Regions from separate parts of the Homo sapiens genome. Here region 2 is linked to region 1. The links are contacts of gene promoters, found by promoter capture Hi-C in blood cells and fetal thymus (Javierre and others, 2016). All regions are on one chromosome and are shown on one strand. Each heading gives the region's core, a stretch centred on a gene start or on the middle of the fragment in contact. The rest is flanking DNA. Distances are from core to core; before and after follow the strand shown. Region 1 holds the start of LINC01605 (long intergenic non-protein coding RNA 1605). Region 2 has its middle 280 kb from the start of LINC01605.

The links. The method cuts DNA at HindIII sites, captures the fragments that hold promoters and counts their contacts. A CHiCAGO score of 5 or more calls a contact.
Region 2: a fragment that was not itself captured here is called in contact with the fragment with the promoter of LINC01605 in region 1 in 1 of 17 cell types (M2 macrophages); the score reaches 5.4 in M2 macrophages.

The regions. Positions count from the first base shown.
Region 1 is chr8:37,597,976-37,602,145 of GRCh38, reverse strand. LINC01605 (long intergenic non-protein coding RNA 1605) reads left to right here and starts at 2,307. Exons shown (of 5, transcript NR_170186.1): 1 at 2,307-3,085. The HindIII fragment of the contact is 9,185 bases long and covers 1,921-4,170 here.
Region 2 is chr8:37,313,490-37,317,709 of GRCh38, reverse strand. No RefSeq gene overlaps it. Among named protein-coding and RNA genes, the nearest start is that of LINC01605, 280 kb to the left of the region's middle. The HindIII fragment of the contact is 3,626 bases long and covers 1-3,236 here.

The DNA of each region.
Region 1 (4,170 bases), core at 1,058-3,557:
CTCACAGTGATAGAATCTGGATGCTTGAAAGTCTTGGTCAGCAAGCCACCCCACGGCATGTCTGTTATTCACCATGGAACTCCAGGAATTGGGGAATAGGGACGGGCCTCGGTCGATCCCAGGGGATATCGGATTTCACCGAGAAGGGGACTCAGGCCTGGGGTCAAGGTGAGGGCTGCAGCATCAGAACTGGCAGACAATGTCAGAAACATTTAGGAAGAGTGATGGATTCCCAGATCGGGGTTAGGAGCAGCTGCCCCCTCAAACGTTGGGGCCTCAGAGACCAGAATTTAACCCCCAGATCTGCCACTTTTGCTACGTGTGTCACTAGGTCATGTTGGGTAACCTCTGATTCATGGCTTGCTTATCTGTAAAAGGTGGGCGATGATAACTATCTTGCATGATGGTTGCAGGGGGGTCAAATCAGATAATATCTGCTTACCCAGAGCCTTGCAAATAATAGTTGCTTACCAAATGTCCTTGTATTTTGTTGAGTTGCTCTTGCCTTGGGTGGGAACTGACCTTTTAGAGACAGTGGTGGGACGGGGCAGGAGGTGAGTGGGTGGGGAGGGCTGAAGATGGTGAGAGACTGGAAGATTCCCGGGGTTCATCAAGTTAGTCAAGAATGACTTTGGGAGACCCTCCCACCCCCGGGTGCTAACCCCAGAACCAGGCAACTTGGGGGCTGTGGAAACAGAGGCTACTAAGGAAATAGAGACCAAAGAATGACTTAGCATACCTAGGATTTCAAGTTAATGAGTTGAAAATTATACCCAGGGCCAGGGAGCCTCACTGAGAGGTCAACCAAGCTTATCCTTGGCATTTCCTCCCCACCCCGACCTCTGCCTGGGATGTTCTCTGCTGTCATTCTCTGAGTGTATGCGGATACTCTCCTATCTCATCTGCAAAACAAGTGGCTTGGATGGGATGTTGACTAAGACCAACGAGATACCTTCCATGGTCTTAAAGATCAAAGATTTTACTTTTCTGTTAATCTGAGAACTTAGAAGGATCCCCTCCAAGTTAGAGGACTACATTTACAGCAGCTTAGATGAACAGAAAGGACTAGAAGTGAGAGTGATGGTAACAAGGGCAGTCACTTTCCATCTATAGTGCTCTGGAGTTGATGACAGTGCTCCGTGTATTAGGTTTCCTGATTAAAAACTGTTTATTTTGTAGCAGAGGCTACTGAGGGCCGGAGGTTGTTAAATGACTTGCTTGAGGTCACGCAGGTAGTGAGTGATAAAGTCAGCCTCCTAACCAGGGTTTTCCAGTCCTAACTCTGATACAAAGTAACTGTGTGAAGACATTGCCCATATCTAGGCCCCAGTCTCCCAATCTGTGAAATGGGTGGATTGTTCCACTGGCAATAAGATGTGGTGTTTTGTTTTGTTTTGTTTTGTTTTGTTTTGTGACAGGGTCTCTCTCTCTGTTGCCTGGGCTGGAGTCCAGTGGCATGATTCCAGCTCACTGCAGCCTCAAACTCCTGGGCTCAAGCGATCCTCCTGCTGCAGTCTCCTGAGTAGCTGGGACTACAGGTGCACACCACCGTGCCCAGCTAAGTTTTTTTTTTTTAGTTTATATGGGGTCTCACTATGTTGCCCAACCTAGTTTTGAACTCCTGGCCTCAAGCGATCCTGCCTTGGCCTCCCTGAGTGCTGGAGTTACAGATGTGAGCCACCGTGCCCAGCCAGATGTGTGATCTTATGGTTTGCCTTTTGCTCCCACACGTCAGAACTGGTGATCTGCTTGCCCTTGGAATGCCAGGGGCCGACCTGATTTTCAGGAAATGGTCCTTTCCCTGTGGGTGGGGAAGCTTCACTTGGTGCTGTTTGGTAAATAACTGTATTGGTCTCCGGAGGGTTTGAAAATCACATTTCTCCCTCTTATTGCTATGGGCGACTAACACTAGCTAAAGCTTGAAATCAGGCCCCAAAGGGTGGCCTCGCTGATGACTCTGGTTTCTCTTTTCACTGTCTAGGGCCCAGGGAGTTTCTCAGCATTTTTGATTGTGAAGGACTATAGAGGCCTTCCTGTGCCCAGAAAGGCCTTGCTTGGTGGGTGTTTAGTCCAAGCCCTTGCCTTCAGGCGGATGGACCAGATGACCTAATAAAGTTTCTAATAAAACCTCCTGGGCAGATCACCAACCTCCTTCCTCTTTAAAGTCTCATTGAGAGAGGAATGTCTACAGCATCCTTGGTAACACATTACAGTGTTTCACAACCCTCCTAGCCAGGAAGCTGTTCTTAATGTTTAACCTTAATCCCTCCCGCTGAAATTTAAGGCCCTTTTCTCTTGTTGAGTGCAAATGGAGAACAGCTGCTCACGCTCGTCGTCTGACATCAGCTATTTCTCAGGATGACCCTGCGAGACAGGCCAGGGTCATTAGACCCAATTTGGTTCTCAGCAAATATGTGTTTATTCCTGCATGCGTGGGCCACAGGCTGGTTTCTTGGGTGCAATGAATAGCTGCAGGTTTATTAGGGTGTCTTTTTAGATGGATGTATGTTTCCCGATGTCTATAGAACACTCCGGACCCCGGAGAGTGAAGACTCTGCCTGTCGGACTTGCTTTGAGAAGATCCTTCTCCACCTCCCCATGGCAGAAGTTGCTTCACAGAGGGGAACAGTTTTATGGATGTGGCTGAGACCTTAAACTTGAGGCAACCCATCTGAGGTGGCATCCAGAGGAGACTGGCTGGCCCCTCCTTCACCTTGGATGTAGTGCTGTTTCTAGGATCTCTTTTCAATCAGCAAAACAGGGGATGTTCCAAGAGGGTGTGGATTCCCTGCCATCCCACATGGTCAAGTGGAGGGGACGGGAAAAAGCTATGAAGGGTTTGTGACCACACAGACTCTCCTGGCCCCCTGTCCTTTTGGAAAGAAGACAGGGATGAAATATAATCAAGCAATTAACCACCCCCATCATCACCAAGAACAACAGTATCAACAAGAAGAACAGGGACAACAAAACCCACGGATGAAACATTCCTTTCTCAGCTCAGATCTTATCTGGTGCGTTCTCTCTCTGCTCTGTCTTGGTGTGTGGTTTAGAGAAACATGGACAACGCTGTTTGGAAGAACAGGTGAGCGAGGGTGGGGAATTTCAGAGGCCTGGGCCCACCGCCTCCACCCCTTCCCCAGTTTAACCTTTGACAGGATCTTCACCTCTCTCTGATCAGCATTGCTTCTTGTTCAAAGGCCTCAGCCACCCAGCTGTGTCCCTTTCCCCAGAAAGCAAGGGCAGATGGCAGTGGGTCTGTTGATGAGAGAACTTTAAGGGCCCAATCAGTCCCTGGGCACCCCCTCCTGGGCTCGTTTTCTCCAGGAGGCTGCATTCTGATCCATAAACCTTCTCCTCGGGGTTTAGGGTCGAGCTGTTCCTGATGTTTATCGGAGACTGGGATCAAAGCTATCCAGGTCATAAATCTCTCTCTGTGGCTGTTGGGCCCCAGGGCAGCTGAAGAGGGTTGACAGCCCTTTGGACCTCAAAGGAAAAAATGTGCTCTACTCCACCCACTCCCAGCTCTGCCAAGAAGCTGTCCTCTGAGAAGCCATGGCTGGGCCGTTCCATTCTGGGGAGCTGCTGAAAAGAGCTGGGAGGCCGAGAAGAACTTGCGTGTGCTGGGGGAGAGGAAGCCTGGCCTTGAGGGAGGGGTGCAGGTGTGGCTCCTCTGTGTGTGGGGGCTGGGGGACCTTGTGTGCCTTTTCCTTGTGGCTGTGAAATGCTTTATGAGTACTTCCATAGGAGGATGGACAGGGAGTCGGGGAGATAAACTCAGCCACAAGGCCCCAGGGCCTCAGGAAACTTGCACCCAACCCTCTCATTTTACAGAAGAAAACTGTGCCTGGAAGGTTGAAGGGTTTGTTCCCAGTCACACAACCAGGGATCCTTAGGACAGCCAGACCAGGAAACCATTTCCAAACTGCCAAGCCATGGCAGAGTATCAAGACCTCAGGAACCATCGAGACACCATGGAAGCATTGGGAAAAGCCTCCTTAGCTTTTGAAGCTCCTCATTGTTCTTGAGTGTGCATGGAGCCCATGACTGCGGGGTTTTGTAGACACCTCAGGGATTACATGACTGGTACCCCTGACAAAGTCAAGGCTGCTGGACAAAATGAGTCCGAGGATTTCAGGGGCAGCTGGGCGCAGGAGCTGGTGGGCTGTT
Region 2 (4,220 bases), core at 174-2,673, 280 kb after region 1:
TAAGCACTTGAATGTGTCCAGTGAAGTTTTTACTGGAGCTTTGATTTATTTTAGTAATAATGAAATAATTATATAAATATATATAGAAAATAAACAATAGTAAAATAAATTATTTGATTAATTTTATTAATAAAATAAATGTATAAATATATAGAATCAATAAACAATAGTAAAATAAATAATTTATTTTATTAATAATCAAATCAAATAAATTATTTATTTTATTAGTAATCAAATAAAATTATTTATTTTATTAATAATCAAATAAAATAAATTATTTATTTTATTAATAATCAAATAAAATTATTTATTTTATTAATAATCAAATAATTTATTTTATTAATAATCAAATAAAACAAATAATTTATTTTATTAATAATCAAATAAAATAAATTATTTATTTTATTAATAATCAAATAAAATAAATTATTTATTTTATTAATAATCAAATAAAATAAATTATTTTATTAATAATCAAATAAAATAAATAATTTCTATTAATAATCAAATAAAATAATTTCTTTTATTAATAATCTAATAAAATAAATTTATTAAAGTTCAAAAATTTAATACAATAAAATAAATTATTTTATTAAAGGTAATGGCAAAATCTGCAATTACTTTTGCACCATCCTAATACCTAGTTTACATAGGAAGAAATGACAACTCAGAGAGGTTTAGTTTCTTGTCTAAGCACGTGGGACTTGTCAACAGCAGAACTGAAATCTGACTCCAGATTTGTCCAACCACAAATCCCACATTTCCCACTATATCCAGAAAGGACCCCAAAGGTTGAGTCTGAGCAACTTAACCTGTTCTGATTTTTCAGAAGCCTACAACAGCCATCGGTGGGGATTGGATAGGAAATGCTGGCCGTGGGGTCTTTTGCATCAGGAAAGTCCAGATCTTCTGAGAGGAAGAAGTGGGAGATGATGGGCTAATTGGAGGCTGTGCTTTGGTTTGACTCCCACTCCTGGCCCACATCTGGCTGGTGGAGTTCCCGGGCCTGGACTCTTGGTGCTTAGGCCTACTGTCTTCCCATTTCTTTATGTTGACCTTCAAGTTTGCTGAATAAAATGAGGCACACTTGTCATTAAGTACTTTCCATACATGGCGTGCTCAGAGTGGAATGACCTGGCAGTCCTTGTCTGTTTCCTTCATTGATGTTTATCCTCCAGTTCAGGGCTGTCCAATAGAAATATAATGCAGGCCCCATGTGCAGTTTTAAATTATTTAGGAGCCACATTATAAAAAAGTAAAAATAAAGAAGTGAAATTACTCTGAATAACAAATTTTATTTAACCTGATATATTTAAAATACAAGCAATATGAAAAAAGTAATATAAAAATCAATGAGATATTTTACATTTTTTTTGTGCATAGTATTCAAAATCCAGTGTGCATTTTCCACTTATCGTGTGCCTCATTTCTGACTAGCCACATTGCAAATGCTCCCTGGTCACATGTGCCCAGCGGCTAAGCTCTTTTGAAAGCACAGTAGCTGATCCAGTTACAGGTTCTTCCCCTTGGAGTGGATGTTTCTGATTCCTCTTGACTCAGGAGGGAAGAGCTGAAGGAGCAGACAGGTGTGTCCTCTTGAGCTACTATCCACTTTCCCTGCTGGTCACCATGTATTTCTGGTAGCAAGCATCATGGGGCTGATCCCAACCTTCCCCAGCAAAGAGGAGCTGCAGGGGAGAGAATCTGGGTCTATGTCAACGACTCGTGGCCCTAAGTGTAGGAAGCACTTCCTGGGGGGACTGCAAACTGTGGCCCATGAAAAATGCATCTCTTCCTATTGTGCATTTCTGTTTATACAAAGTTTGACGAAGTTTCTATAATCAGTAAAGGCAATCTCAGCCCTAGGAAACCTGTGCAGCTGGTGAGGTTTGATTTCAATGTTCCCATTTTCCCACTGAGCTTGATTCTCTCCTTTATCCTCAAGGGGCACAGACCCCAGTCCAGTGGGAGGCCCAGCTCCACCATGCTTCGCCACCTGAGGAAATAGAACTTTCTTCTTTATAGCTGCTGTGCTCAGCTAGACACAGAATGTATGCAGAGTCTCCCACTGTTCTTATGTCCAGTTCTTCACTGAGTTTGGCTTGAGACTTTTGGGGAAACAAACCTTTGTTAGGTGATATGGCTTGGCTCTGTGTCCCCACCCAAATCTCATCTTGAATTGTAATCCCCACATGTGGAGGGAGGGACTTGTAATCCCCACGTGTCAAAGAAGGGAGATGATTGGATCACAGGGTTGGTTTTCCCCATGCTGTTCTCATGATAGTGACTGAGCTGTCACGAGATCTGATGGTTTTATAAGGAGCTCTTTCCCCTTCACTTTCTCCTGTGTCTCCTACCGTCATGTAAGACATAACTGCTTCCCTTTCTGTCATGATTTTAAGTTTCTTGAGGCCTTCCCAGCCATGCAGAACTGAGTCAATGAAACCTCTTTCCTTTATAAATTACCCAGTCTCGAGTAGTATCTTTTTTTTTTATTTTTTATTTTTATTTATTTATTTATTTGCAGACAAGGTCTCACTCTGTCTCCCAGGCTGGAGTGCAGTGGTGCGATCTCAGCTCTCTGCAACCTCCGCCTCGCAGGTTCAAGTGATTCTTGTGGCTTAGCTTCCCGTGTAGCTGGGATTAAAGATGCCCACAACAACACCTGGCTAATTTTTGCATTTTTAGTAGAGACGGGGTTTCACCTTGTTGGCCAGGCTGGTCTCAAACTCCTGACCTCAGGTGATCCGGCCGCCTCGGCCTCCCAAAGTCCTGGGATTACAGGTGTGAGCCACTGCACCTGGTCATCGGGTAGTACCTTTACAGCAGTGTGAAAACAGACTAATACACTTGGTGTAGGAAGATGCGGGGAATGTGTGCAGAACTGGCTGTAGACAGGGAAGGGATAGGCTGAAAAGATATCATGGCTTTTGGGGAGATGACAGTCATCTACTCAACCCTCTGAGCTTTTGTGTCTCTAACCTTGGGCAACATAGGGGCAGTGCACCCCCCCATCTCTGAGACCTGTTGGCATCCTTGGATAGGAATTAAATAAAACCCTCAAGGTCAGACATCTTCAGGTTCAGCTGCTAGTTCTCCTCCAGTTTGCATACAGTTGCAGGAATCATTGTCCCCTTGTGATACTCTCGATTACTTCTGGTGTGGGTCCCTCTCTTATATTCTTGGTGCTTTCAAGGATTCATTTCTTGTTCCATTGAGATCTGATGCCCTAAGCTTATGTCAAACTCTGCTTCAGATGAAAAGCTTAATTCTGGTCTTGCCTGGGTGTTGACAAAGGTAAGATAATTCTACAGAATCAGAAGAAACAGCAGATGTGTTTTACAAGTGCTAGGACATTTTAGACAGTTCGATAGGGTGTGTTTTATATTTGAAGGATGAGGAGAAAAAACTAAGTTTTTCCTATTGAATTGTTGGGCCACCTTGCAGAAGATGGCAATAGAAAAATAGACTTTTCATTTCAGCTTTTGGGGCTGTTGCCCCAGGAGAAAGGTGCTTTTCCAGTCCCTAGTGGCATAGGTTACTCGGGTCAGAAATTGAGCCAGTATGCTTAGCAGAATTATATTAAATAGAAGTCAAGTGCTGGTGGTACCCAACATTATAACTTAGCCAAAAGGTCATGGACTCAGCTTTGGAAGAATCCTTGCAACAGTCTTCATCATGGCCTGAACTTTACCCACTTCCTCTTTACTGTGTGACTTAGGCCATCTCCTCCTACATGCCTCCCATGCACACTTTGTAAACATGTTAGAAGGAGGATCCCATGACTAAAGCAAAAGCATGTAGAGATGAAGGAATCTGATAGCAGTCACACACTGCTATGGCTTGAATATCTGTCCCCTCCAAAAGTCACGTTGAAATTTAATTGCCATTGTGATGGAATTGGGAGGTGGAACCTTTAAGAGGTGTTTACATCATGAGGGCTTCACTCTCATGAGTGGAATCATGCTGCTATTGTTGGAGTGGGTTTGTTATTGCTGGAGTGGTTTCATTTCTGTCTCTGTCTCTCTTTGCCCCTTTGTCATGTGATGCTTTCCGCCATGTGATAATACAGCAAGAAGGCCCTTGCCAGATACTGTTGCCTTGATCTTGGACTTCCTGGCCTCTAGAACCATGAAAAATAAATTTTTGCTCATTATAAACTACCTAGTCTGTGATATTCTGTTATAGCAGCACAAAATGGACTAAGACAAACAATAATG